Regions from separate parts of the Homo sapiens genome. Here region 1 is linked to region 2. The links are contacts of gene promoters, found by promoter capture Hi-C in human tissues and cell types (Jung and others, 2019). All regions are on one chromosome and are shown on one strand. Each heading gives the region's core, a stretch centred on a gene start or on the middle of the fragment in contact. The rest is flanking DNA. Distances are from core to core; before and after follow the strand shown. Region 1 overlaps LOC124904230 (a long non-coding RNA gene). Region 2 holds the start of SLC35A3 (solute carrier family 35 member A3).

Region 1 (6,661 bases), core at 749-3,248, 36 kb after region 2:
CATGGCAGTGTAGAAAACCAATTAGGAAAGGGTAGGTATATGTAAAGTAGGTGAAGCTTGGGGATCAGAGAAAAGCATGTCAAATGGGAAGACAGGTTCTCAATCTGGTCCATGGATTTGACTTGTAGCTTGGTTTTCAGGCTTTAAACTGTCTTCTGCTTGGAGGTAGGGTTTCACTGAGGACCTGTCCCTATCTGCTTAGGCATTTGTCTGCCTCCTGCCTCTATCATAAGGGCATTCTGAGTCATTTATGTCATGTCATTAGGTAGTGGTTGAATGAGAGTGAGTACCTTAGTAATGCATCCAAGAATAGGATGAGTCTTAGGGCCCCATGTAAAGAAAAATATATTAGGTTTTAGTAAATTCTAACCAGGAAACTTCTCAAAAAGAGTAGTGGCCCTTTTGATGCTTTAAACCAAGCTTAAACTCTCGCTGCTGCTTCAAAGCCATGTCTTTTTGCTTTCAATATAACCAATTATTCAGCCAATTATTAATGTGGTGAATATTCATTTTACTGAAAGATAGAAGTAATTTTGGAGATTATAAAGGTAATACTGAGATATAAAAGTCACTTATTTTGTGTTTTAAATATTAATGTATTCTAGTACAGGGTTTCTCAACCTCAATACTGTTGGCATTTTGGGCTGCAATAATTTTTTACTGTGAGGACCTGTCCTATGCTGTATAGGATGTTTAGCAACACACTAGAGGCAAGTAGCACTCTTCTGCTGTGACAATTAAAATTGTCTCCAGATATTGGTAAATCTCTCCAGAGAGGCAATTTATTAATTTTGTTTTATTAATAGAGATAGGGTCTTGCTCTGTCACCCAGGTTGGAGTGCAGTGGTGTGATCATAGCTTACTGTAACCTTTAACTACTGGGCTCAAGCAATCCTCTAGCCTCAGGCTTCTGAGTAGCTAGAACTACAGGCAAATGTCACCACACCTGGCTAATTAAAAAAATTTTTTTGAGACAGGGTCTAGTGATGTTGCTCAGGCTGGTCTTGAACTCCTAGCCTCAAGGGATTCTCAGCTTGGCCTCCCAAAGTGCTGGAATTACAGGCATGAGCCACCACACCTGGCTGAAAATCACTGTTCTAATGGAATAATCCATCTTATATGAATGCTATTTTTAAATTGGTATTTTTAGACAGATTGTTTCACTTAATTCTTAGATTCCTGTGACTATTCCTTTCCTGAGATATGAGAGTATTCATTCTCATATCTCGAGATTCCTAAGGTATGATATTCATTTTATTTGTAAGTCATTTAATTCTTGTGAACCTCAGTTTTCATGTACATGAACACAGAGCTAGAAGTGTTACACCTGGAACTTTTCCCTTAGAACAAATTAATTCTCATATGATACATAATGAAATAATTGTATACCTGTTGAAAATGAATATCTGGGTATGAAATTGTTATCTGTATATGATCACAGGTTTGTAAACATTTTGTATAAAAGGCAAAAAAGGCAAGATGACAGAAAATATTTGATTTATTTTGGTAGTCAAACTTGTTGGCTTCAGAATCCTGACTTCCATTGATGCAGTGGTCTCAACCCTAACAGTTAATTAGACTCCCCTAGGGGGCTTGAAAGTTATTAGTGCTGGATTCCTATCTCCAAGGATTTGGATTTGAGGAAAGAAAAAGCAGAAAGGAATACTGCTTAGTTAAAAAGGAGAATGTCTCACCAGGCACCAGTACACTGCCATTCATTGCCTTTTCTTTCTCTCATTCTCTTCTAAAACGAGGTAAAGAAGATAAAATTTGGGAACTTAAAACTTGGCAAAGAAGGAAATCCTTTTGGCAATATCATAAAGTGAGTGTCTATTTTCCTACCTTGCAGAGGGGAACCTAAAACTCAGATTTTATCTCCTTTGTGGGTTCCTCTTCTTCACCTGCTCATGAAATGGAAGTTTCCTGAACATCATTTCAGAAATGAGGACATTAGTAATTTTCTGTTACTGGATCTTTTTATTAAAATCACCCTTGATGTACATAATTTAATAGAAATATACATCTCTTTGGCTTCTTAAGAACAACCAGAGCCAGATGTCTTGAAGGCAGAAATGTCCCTGTGTTTTCCTAATACGGACCAGTATTTCTTTTTTCTTCTCTAGGTTCAATTTTTAATTTCATGTAATTTTATTTTAAATTTTTATTTATTTATTTATTTATTTATTTGGAGGCAGCGTCTCGTTCTGTTGCCCAGGCTGAAGTGCGGTGGCCTGATCTTGGCTCACTGCAAACTCTGCCTCCCGGGTTCAAGCTATTTTTGTGTTTCAGCCTCTCAAGTAGCTGGGATCACAAGCCTGTGCCACCAAGCCTGGCTAATTTTTGTATTTTTAGTAGAGATGGGGTTTCACCATGTTACCCAGGCTGGTCTCAAACTCCTGACCTCAAGCAATCCACCTGCCTTTTGCCTCCCAAAGTGTTGGGATTACAGGCGTGAGCCACTGCACCTGGCCTATTTTTTTTATTTTCATCAAAGCTTCCTTGCCCACAGTATTAAGAGATCTGTAAGTTTTGTTCCCCAAACACCAGTTCACCCAGTCAGCCCCAACTTCTACTGATCTTTCATGTTCTTCCAGCCATTTCATATCTGAACTGATTGTTTTGGGTATTACCTGCATGTTGCTATGTAACATGTTTATATTGCTATTTCTTGTTTTTTTCTTTTTTCAATTTTAGGCATTACTTATTGACTTTTATGGAAGATGTCCATTTAATTATCTTTCACACACACCTTCCCATTCCTCCTAGCCTCTACGGCAAACACATTTTCCATCCCCAGTCCAGTCAGTATAACTTCATCATAACTTTGCTATAATAAAAATTCACCATTTATGGTACTAATAACTCTTTTAAGTTTTATTAACAGCTGAGCCATATGGTATACTTTAATTACCTTTCCTTTTCTGCAAAACGTTATTTCCTCTATTGTTAAATATCTATTTTTGTTATTGCTTGCTTAGTTTTCTAAGTACTTAGGAACAATCTAGCCCTACTTCTTTACCTAGGAATCCTCTTAAAAGTTCAAACGCACTAGGTATCCCATCAATTTTAATGACTTAGAGAACCCTCTTCCTTGGATAGCTCCAATCTGCACTGGTTGATCTCTAGGTCCACTCTACAAATGTCACCTTGAGATCTCCCTTCAACATCATCCTGGCTCCCCTGGGAAAGTTCTTGAACTTTATTGTATAATTCTTTGTTTCTGCTGGAGTTTTCAATATCTAAGAGCTCTTTTTATGTCCCCAGGTGTTCCTTTTTTAACAATAGCATCCTGTTCTTGTTTCCTGAATGCAATATCTCCTCCTATACCTTAGAGGATATTAATCATAGTTTTTCTGATATTTTCTTCTCTCTGCATCTAACTTTTTAAAAAAGCTTTATTGGGCCGGGAGTGGTGGCTCACCCCTGTAATCCCAGCACTTTGGGAGGCCAAGGCGGTGGATCCTGAGGTCAGGAGATCAAGACCATCCTGGCTAACACGGTGAAACCCCATCTCTACTAAAAACACAAAAAATTAGCCAGGCATGGTGGCGGGTGCCTGTAGTCCCAGCTTCTTGGGAGGCTGAGGCAAGAGAATGGCGTGAACCCGGGAGGTGGAGCTTGCAGTGAGCCGAGATCGCAGCCTGGGCGACAGAGCCAGACTCTGTCTCAAAAAAAAAAAAAAGTGGCCAGGCGCGGTGGCTCACGCCTGTAATCCCAGGACTTTGGGAGGCTGAGGCGGGTGGATCACGAGATCAGGAGATCAAGGCCATCCTGGCTAACACAGTGAAACCCCATCTCTATTAAAAATACAAAAAATTAGCTGGGAGTGGTGGTGGGCGCCTGTAGTCCCAGCTGCTCGGGAGGCTGAGGCAGGAGAATGGCGTGAACCCGGGTGGCGGAGGTTGCAGTGAGCCGAGATCGCGCCACTGCACTCCAGTCTGGGCTACACAGTGAGACACCGTCTCAAAAAAAAAAAATAAGTTTTATTGAAATTAATTTCCTTACCAAAAAGTTCACCCATTTAAAGTATATACATGAATGATTTTTAGTAAATTTTCAAAGTTATATAACAAAAACCAAAATCTAATGGTAGAACATTTCAATCATCCCCACAAAAAAGCTTATGCCCAACTGCAGTCACTCCCTCTTCCCTTCCCATTCTAATCCCCAGGCAACCATTAATCTGCTCTTTGTGTCTATGTATTTGCCTTTCTGAATGTTTCATATAAACCCAAAATGAAGAATATTCTTTTGGTAAGAGGTGGGGTAACTTTTTTTCTTCAAAAATGTCATAAATGACAAAGAAATATTGTGGAAATATTCCTGATTAAAGGGAACTAAAGAGATGACAATTGCATGCCACACCTGATCTTAACTGGACCCTGTACTCGACGGAAAATAAGCTATGGAGGACATTATTCAGTGAACTGACAACACTGAAATTAGAAGGTGTATTTGATGAAAGTTTCATCAATGTTAAATTTACTGGAGTTAACTGTACTGTGCGTGTGTGTGAAGAGGAATAATTAAGAAAATAAGACAGATGGGGTAAAATGTGAGCAATAAATAGTTTTCAAAAACTCTCAGTCATTGTTATCATTTTCCTTGATTCTGAGACTCCAATTACAAGTGTGTGAGACTGTTTGACACTGTCCCATGTGTCTCACAAGCGGTGCTTGGTTCTTTCCGTTATTTTTCTCTTTTTACATTAGTTTCGATATTTTTAATTGATTGGCCTTTGATTTCATTACTTGTAGCACTCAGTCTGCTGTTAAAACTACTCTATATATAAATTCTTAATTTCAGATTAATATTTTTCAGTTCTAGAATGTCCTTCTGATACTTTTATATAGATTCCAATTCTCTTTTGGAATTCTCTGTGTTTTCCTTTATTTACTAATTTAGAGACAGGGTCTCCCTATGTTGCTCAGGCTGGTCTTGAGCTCCTGGCTTCAAGCAATCCTCCTGCTTTTGCCTCCCAAAGTGTTGGGATTACAGGTGTAAGCCACCATTTCCTTCTCTTATTTTTTAACATGTCTATAATCTTATTTGAAAAGGCCTATCAGCTAACCTCTGCAAGTGCATCATTTTGATCTGCATCTCGTCTGTTTTTTCTTTTGATTATTTATCACAGTTGCTTTTCTCTTCAAATGTTTCTTTATTTTGGGTAATATGCCACATATTGTGAACAAAAGAACTGTACAGCCTAAAGCTGGCCAGGCATGGTGGCTCATGTCTGTAATCCCAGCACTTTGGGAGGCCGAGGTTGAGGGGGAGGGGATCCCTTGAGGCCAGGAGTTCAAGACCAGCCTGGGCGACATAGTGAAACCCATCTCTATTAAGAAAAAAAAAAGATATTGGAAAATTTATTTTTAAATTGAAAAAAGAGACTAAAGTTGGTGTTATTTTCTTATAGAGAATCGTTTGAAGGGATGTATAAATTGTGGTTTATTCAAACAATGGAATCAACTATGGCAGAGAAGAAAAATGAGCCACAAGCTGCACTCATCAATGGGAATAAATCTCAAGAACATAATATGTTACAAAAATTAAATTTAAAAAGATTAGAAATAATAGAATTCCAAATATATAACGGTTAAAACAGGCAAAACTAAATCGTATATTAAGATATACATATATAACACTATAGAGATAATTAGGAAAATAACTAACATAAAATCAGGAGGGAGAATCCACCAGTGGCAGAGAGGGAATCTAATTTGGAGGGGCAGGCAGTGCACTTTAGTGATACTGGTAAGGTTATCTTCTAAAGCTCTGTAAAAATCTCCCATAAAATACCTCCAGAAAAATCTGTTGGTCACGTCTTAAATATTGCTGCAAGGAAAAATACCATCTTAACAAAATCTTGGTATTTTCTCAGAAGGGGTAAGTTAGGGAAAGGTATTTACAGAGTTTTGGAACATGGCTGGGTGATTTTTAAGGCAGGTATTGCAAGATGGAGCTGGTTGGGATTAGGCAGAGTTTAAAAATAATAGCTTTGTATTGGTGGACAAAATGAGGCAAGTGTTTTAAAATAAATCTTGATGAGCAAGATAATTATCAGAAAAATACTGGTGAGCTAGCTGTTTTAGTTGGTTTACAGTCTCATCTTCCTAGACAGGAATTTGTGAAATAAACAGCTACTATCTTTGCTTGGCTGTAGTATTGTCTAAAATAGGGGCAGGATATTTGTCTTCGTTTTCAACTCTGTGGTGGGTTCATGCTGTTCACTTAATTGTTGTTCTTTAAAAATGCATATATTATGTTTCAAAACACAATTTCTTTTTCTCTAGGAAAGCAATTATACTTAAACATTCCATAAGAAATTTATATTCCATTCACTGAAAGAAAACAAACAAAACAACAAAAGAAATTTATAGGCTGAAAACTGATAAACTATCCCCTTAAGTCCAACATAACAATTTCTCCTTTAATTGTAAGTGGTTTGTTCTTCCTTAGATTGGGCACAAGATATAGTAATTGATCTCTGTGTTGGGGGCAGCTTCCCAACCCATGTAGGACTCTATGATGAATGGGTTACAGGAGTGATGAAACAGTTTTCCTTAGCTCTTTAGGCAACGCGTCTCTGGCTGTTTGTCACCAGCCAGAAGTATCCACCTCTCTTTTACCACAGTATGCTAATTATCTTTTTGTTGTTGTT
Region 2 (6,371 bases), core at 1,166-3,665:
TGAGGCGAGAGGGTCACGCCACTGCACTCCAGCCTGCGTGACAGAGCAAGACTCCATCTCAAAAAAAAAAAAAAAAAAAGTAGTAAGTACAAATGCTTTCCTTAGGAAGCTTACATTACAGTAGGGATAATAGAACTCTCAAATTACAATGCAAATTTAACAAGTGTTGTAAGATTTATAAAGCCCAGCACACATGAAGAAAAAAAAATGGGCTGGGCGTAGTGGCTCATGCCTGTAATCCCAACACTTTGGGATGTCGAGGCAGGTGGATCACCTGAGGTCAGGAGTTCAAGACCAGCCTGGCCAACATGGTGAAACCCCGTCTCAACTAAAACTACAAAAAAATTGGCTGGGTGTGGTGGCGGGCACCTGTAATCCCAGCTACTTCAGGAGGCTGAGGCAGGAGAATCGCTTGAACCCGGGAGACGGAGGTTGCAGTGAGCCGAGATCGCAACATTGAACTCCAGCCTGGGCAACAAGAGCAAAACTCTCTCAAAAAAAGAGAAAAAGAAAAAGAAAAAAAGAATGAACTGGATTTATGGCAGATTTCAGAAAGCTGCATAAGAAAGAGATGGCATTTAAGGAATTGAAGAATAAGTAGAATTTCTACAAAGACAGCAAGGAAGGCCTTCCTTGTTTCTTCTTTGTAGGAAGAAATGATAAAAGCAAACACCAAGGCTGACAGGCATATAGCATGTTCAGAAACTGGACGTCTAATTAACGACTAGTTTGGCTAAAAAATAGGATATGTGGAAAAAAGTAATACTTGTTTAATAAAAGGAAAAAAGAAAGAATCATATTGGGGGCCGGGTGCGGTGGCTCACGCCTGTAATCCCAGCACTTTGAGAGGCCGAGGTGGGTGGATCACGAGGTCAGGAGATCGAGACCATCCTGGCTAACATGGTGAAACCCCGTCTCTATTAAAAATACAAAAAAATTAGCCGGGCGTGGCGGCGGGCGCCTGTAGTCCCAGCTACTCAGGAGGCTGAGGCAGGAGAACGGCATGAACCCGGGAGGCGGAGCTTGCAGTGAGCTGAGATTGCGCCACTGCACTCCAGCCTGGGCGACAGAGCGAGACTCCGTCTAAAAAAAAAAAAAAAGAATCATATTGATTTTACTGGAGCCACCGTCAGACTCAAATTCTGAAGGAAAAATCTGAAGCCTCCCTAAATAATATAAAATTTATTAAATGCCTCCCTAAATAATTTACATTTTATTCTGAAGCCGATCGAGAGTCACTGCGTATTTCTGAGGAAGGAATAACCAAAAAAAGAAAGTCATAAGATCTTTGGCTTTAAAAGTAATATGGAGGCAAGTGACTGGAAGGGTGCCAGGCTGAGGACAAGTCCAGTTTGGAAGTTATTGCTATAGTGCAAGTAAGAAGAGGAAAGACGAGCATATTTAGCAGACAGGTAGTGGGAATGAAAAAGGGGAGAACTAAATTTGAGATGCTGAAGAGATAGAATCAACAGTTGGGAGGAAAGTTAGCCTCAGAAATATAAGTTTACAAGTCATTCCCTTGAAACACCCTGAGTTTACCAGTGAAAGTGAATAAGAACACCAAGTAAGAAACTGCACCAAATTTCATCTTTAACTACTAAAGTCGAATGTTGATTTCAAAAACGAAAAGACTTAATTTTCAAATACTGCATTTAAGAGAACATAATAAAAGATCGTCTTTTACTATAAAGCAATGCACCCACACACCTGTTCTGATGAGAATCTCACCCCACTTCAAACAGTCCTTGTGTTCTTACTAGCCTTACCAAGGGCAGCCTTTCCATTTCTTTAAGTTCCTGCGGCTTCTTGAGCTCCAGGTGCTGGTCGGGTGCATCTGTGCCTACCACAGGGCTCAACACCGAGCGAGAGCTCATGGGATGTTCACTGAAGGAATGACGGGCCCCAGCCGGGCCCACCCGTCACTAGCTCCGCACGCACCAGGCGCTGAGGCACACACTGCCGTCTTCATTCGCTTGACACACCCCTCTCCTCGGGCCTTTTTTCCTCCTCCACCCAGTACATTCCGCACGTCGTCCGTCGGAGTTACAACGTGTCACCTCATCTGCTCCCACCCCTACTTAGCTAGCACTGTATTTCAGGTCTTCGATACCGTCCCCTTCACCCCTACAGACTTCACATCAGCCCCCTCGCATGCCTCCTCTTCCTCCTCCTCCAGGAGCTTCCCGGGCCGCCCCGCAGCCGCTAGCCTCCTGGTTCCCGCCCCTCCCCAGGTGCGCTGAGGACTCACCTCCCGCGCAGCTCGACCGGCTGAGCCCACCACCGGGGGCCGCGGTTCAGCTCCGCCGGGCGCCCCAGGCTGCCGAGTCCGCTGGGTCCTACGCGACCGCTGACCCGCAGCGCCGCCGGCTCCCGTCGCCGTAGCCACCGCCAGCTCGGTGCAGCCCAGGCGTTTCCGGGTTCCCGCGGTCCCGTCCCCCAAATGCTCCGGCTTCCGCCTCGGCTCTGGCAAATGCCGTTCCCGGCTCGGCTCTGGCAGCCCCAGCTCGGCACTTGGCAGCTCTGTCCCTAAGGCGACGCACCTGGGCTGCTCTGCTGGCAGCCCCTGGTTCCTGCTTCACCGTCGCGTGGAGGCCTGGGGCACTGCTTTCTGCTACACCTCTCCTAGGAGCGCGAAACAGATGGAGTGACACTCGTCGAGGGCCTCTGCGGGACTGTCTGTTTGCAGAGGGTGCCAAGGTGTCCACTGCGTAAGGAAGGGCAAAGTCCTTTGGGGCAAAGAACCCTGAGAGGAACGGGGAGATGGATTTTGAAAGCAAACGAACCCTCTCCTAAAAGTGACTGTCACTGACCTGAAAACAACCAGATTAGCTATGGCAAAGGCTGCCAACCAACCAGTGGTCTGCAAGAAGGCTTGTTCTTCCACTTCACCCACCCTGACTGAGATCTTGAGACTGAAGGAAACCCAAAGCCGTACCACCAATGGGCCTAGTGTCATCAACCGGGAGAGGAAAAAGAAAACTGGGCCCAGAGGATTGCAGAGTTATGAGGGACCAACCCCTTCCTGGCTGCATGGATCACAGCATTACCTTTTAAAAGTGTTCCAGTAGCTGTGTTGGAAACCCTCTAACCACGGCAGCCCATTCAGGTGATGAACAGGCTGAAATCAGTACTTCAGGTTCAGCTGGATTATCAAATAAGCGAATAGGATTATCTCTTTTTGTTAACTCAGGGCTGCTATAAATTAAGCCTATGTCTCTTTATATTGCAAATGATTAAAACCATGTCCAAGAGAGACATACTTAGAAAAAAAGTGATATTGAAGAAAAATAAGTAACTGTATTAGAGTAGAATAACTGGTTTTAAAATTTTCTGCAATACAGTCTTGAGAAAATTCCTGGATGGTAAAATACATATTAGATCTTAATACATGCCCAGTTTTTTTTGAAACCAAAATGTGCCTGTTAGATGATGATAACAGCATGCCTCGTTTTATTGTGATTTGCTTTATTGCTCTTCACAGACATTGCTTTTGTTTTTTTGTTTTTTTTTTTTACAAATTGAAGGTTTGTGGCAACCTTGCCTCAAGCACATCTATTGGTGCCATTTTTCCAACAGCATGTGCTCACTTTGTGTCTCTGTGTCACATAATATTCAATAATTTTTGCAATATTTAAATTTGTTCATCATTATTATATCTGGTATAGTGCTTTGTGATCAATGATCTTTGATGTTACTATGGTAATTGTTTTGGGGTGCTGATATGGTTTGGCTGTGTCCCCACCCAAATCTCAACTTGAACTGTATCTCCCAGAATTCCCACGTGTTGAGGGAGAGACCTAGGGGGAGATAATTGAATCATGGGGGCCAGTCTTTCCTGTGCTATTCTCATGATAGTGAATAAGTCTCATGAAATCCGATGGGTTTATCTGGGGTTTCTGATTTTGCTTCTTCCTCATTTTTCTCTTGCTGCAGCCATGTAAGCAAGTACCTTTCACCTCCCGCCATGATTCTGAGGCCTCCCCCGCCATGTGGAACTGTAGGTCCAATTAAACTTCTTTTTCTTCCCAGTCTCGGGTATGTCTTTATCAGCACCATGAAAATGGACTAATACAGGTGCCATGTACTGCACTCATATAGAAAGGCAAACTTAATTAATAAATGTTATGTGTGTTCTGACTACTCCACCAACTGCCCATTTCCCCACACTTCTCCCCCTTGGGCCTCCCTATTTCCCAATAAACAGCAATATTGAAATTAGGCCAATTATTAACCCTACAATGGCTTTGAAGGAAATCAAAATATTTTACCCCAAAATATACTACTTTGACATATTTTGAGATGACTGTTTAGAGGGCCTGCAATCAGAAGTAGCCTTTGCAGGCCAGATGTGGTGGCTCACGCTTGTAATCCCAAGACTTTGGGAGGCTGAGGCCAGCGGATTGCTTGAGCCCAGGAGATCGCGACCAGCCTGAGCAACATATTGAGATCCCATCACTACAAAAAATAAAAATTTAAACATGTACCAGTCATAATGGTACATGCCTTTAGTCCTAGCTACTCATGAGGGAGGCTGAGGTGGGACGATCACTTGATCCCAGGAGTTCAAGGCCACATTAAGCCATGATCATGCTACTGTACTCCAGCCTGGCTGATAGAGCAAGACCCTGTCTCAAAAAAAAAAAAAAAAAAAAAGTAGCCCAGTAGCCCTGCAAAACTGTCTCTTGTAGGGCAGATTTGCATCTGTGGAGAATCTGCATTAATGTAGCCAGGCTTTCTCTGAGGCCCTTCCTTGTCCAGATCTAGGAAAGATTTACTGAGATTCTGACACTTTTAAAGGTCTGAAAGAAACTTCCACCATCTATTCTCTCTGAGGGCTGCTACCCACCTTTGTTAGTCAGGCCTCTGCTTCTGTCCCTCCCGTAACTTGTTTTGCCACTATAACCTGATTTACCACCATAATCTATTTTTGGCCATGCTTGGAGCTCTCATTCTTTGTAAAGATGGTATACCCTTCTGTACTACATGGGGGATAAGAGTAATCACCCTGTGATTTCTCCTCATGTACACTAATAAATTTCTATGCCTTTTTTCTTTTCTTTCTTTTTTTTTTATTTATTTTTTTTTTAGTTAGGGTCTCTCTCTAGAAGGAGTGCAGTCGCATGATCATGGCTCACTGTAGCCTTGACCTCCAAGGTCCTCCTGCCTCAGCCTCCCACTTAAGCAACCCTCCTGCCTCAGCCTCCTGAGTAGCTGGGACTATAGGCACATGCCACCATACCTGGCTAATTTTTTTTTACTTTTAATAGAGATGGGTTCCCACTATTTTATGCAGGCTGGTCTCAAACTCCTGAGCTCCAGTGATCTTCTTGCCTCAGCCTCCCATTGTATTGGGATTACAGGCATGAACCACCGTGCCCAGCCTGCCTCTTCTCTTATTAATCTGACTTTTGTCAGTTGATTATTCAGCCAACCTTCAGAGGGCGAAGAGGAAGGTACAGAAGCTCACCAGGGCAAGAATGTCAGCTGAGCCTGAACTGCAAGTCTGGACATCCAACAATTCAAATCAGTACCCAAGGTCTGCAGCTCTTTCAAATGAGAAAAAGATAATAGTCTAAAGGCAGCCAGGGCCAAATAGGACTATGTGTCTCAGTGGTACCTAATTAGAATTGTCGGATAAAATAGAGGCCTTCGCCTGGCGCAGTGGCTCACGCCTGTAATCCCAGCACTTTGGGAGGCCGAGGCAGGCAGATCACCTGAGTTTGGGAGTTCGAGACCAGCCTAACCAACATGGAGAAACCCCGTCTCTCCTAAAAATACAAAAAATTAGCGGGGCGTGGTGGCACATGCCTGTAATCCCAGCTACTCAGGAGGCTGAGGCAGGAGAATTGCTTAAACCCGGGAGGCAGAGGTTGCGGTGAGCCAAGGATTGCACCATTGCACTCTAGCCTGGGCAACAAGAGGGTAAACTCTGTCTCAAAAAAAAAAAAAAAAAAAAAAAAAAAAACAGAAGCCTTGTTAAATTTAAATTTCAAATAAGCAACGAAGTATGGAATATTTCGGATATACTTTAAAAAATTCATTGATTATCAGAAATTCTAATTTAACTGGATGTCCTGTAATTTTATTTGCTAAATGTGGCAACCCTATTGAAGGCATGAGTGCATTATGATATTGTACAATAACTGGGATTCCCTATGATGCCCCAGAGAAATTAAGGCCAGATCAAATTATGTTTAGTGCAGTTGACGCTGCAAACATTATGCACACAAAATGACATTCTCTAGATCAATATCTTCAGACAGTGCCAAGCTGGTAGACTTTAATGGATAAAGGTCAGACGTTGTTAGAAAACCCAGGAGAAAATAATGAAAAGACAACAAACAAGAAAGAAAGAGGGCAGGGACTATGTT

Evidence for each region. The method cuts DNA at HindIII sites, captures the fragments that hold promoters and counts their contacts. A contact is called where the count stands out against the background at its distance.
Region 1: a contact is called between a fragment that was not itself captured here and the fragment with the promoter of SLC35A3 in region 2, in 1 of the 25 tissues and cell types used here (pancreas).

Annotation. Positions count from the first base shown.
Region 1 is chr1:99,929,317-99,935,977 of GRCh38, reverse strand. LOC124904230 (a long non-coding RNA gene) reads left to right here. Exons shown (of 7, transcript XR_007066251.1): 5 at 1,761-1,822. Among named protein-coding and RNA genes, the nearest start is that of SLC35A3, 37 kb to the left of the region's middle. The HindIII fragment of the contact is 3,519 bases long and covers 239-3,757 here.
Region 2 is chr1:99,966,040-99,972,410 of GRCh38, reverse strand. SLC35A3 (solute carrier family 35 member A3) reads right to left here and starts at 2,415. Exons shown (of 8, transcript NM_012243.3): 1 at 2,249-2,415. All of the region lies in intron 1 of LOC124904230 (a long non-coding RNA gene), which reads left to right. RefSeq lists enhancers at 1,966-2,055, 2,776-2,825, 2,886-2,935 and a silencer at 2,176-2,375. The HindIII fragment of the contact is 9,355 bases long and covers 1-6,371 here.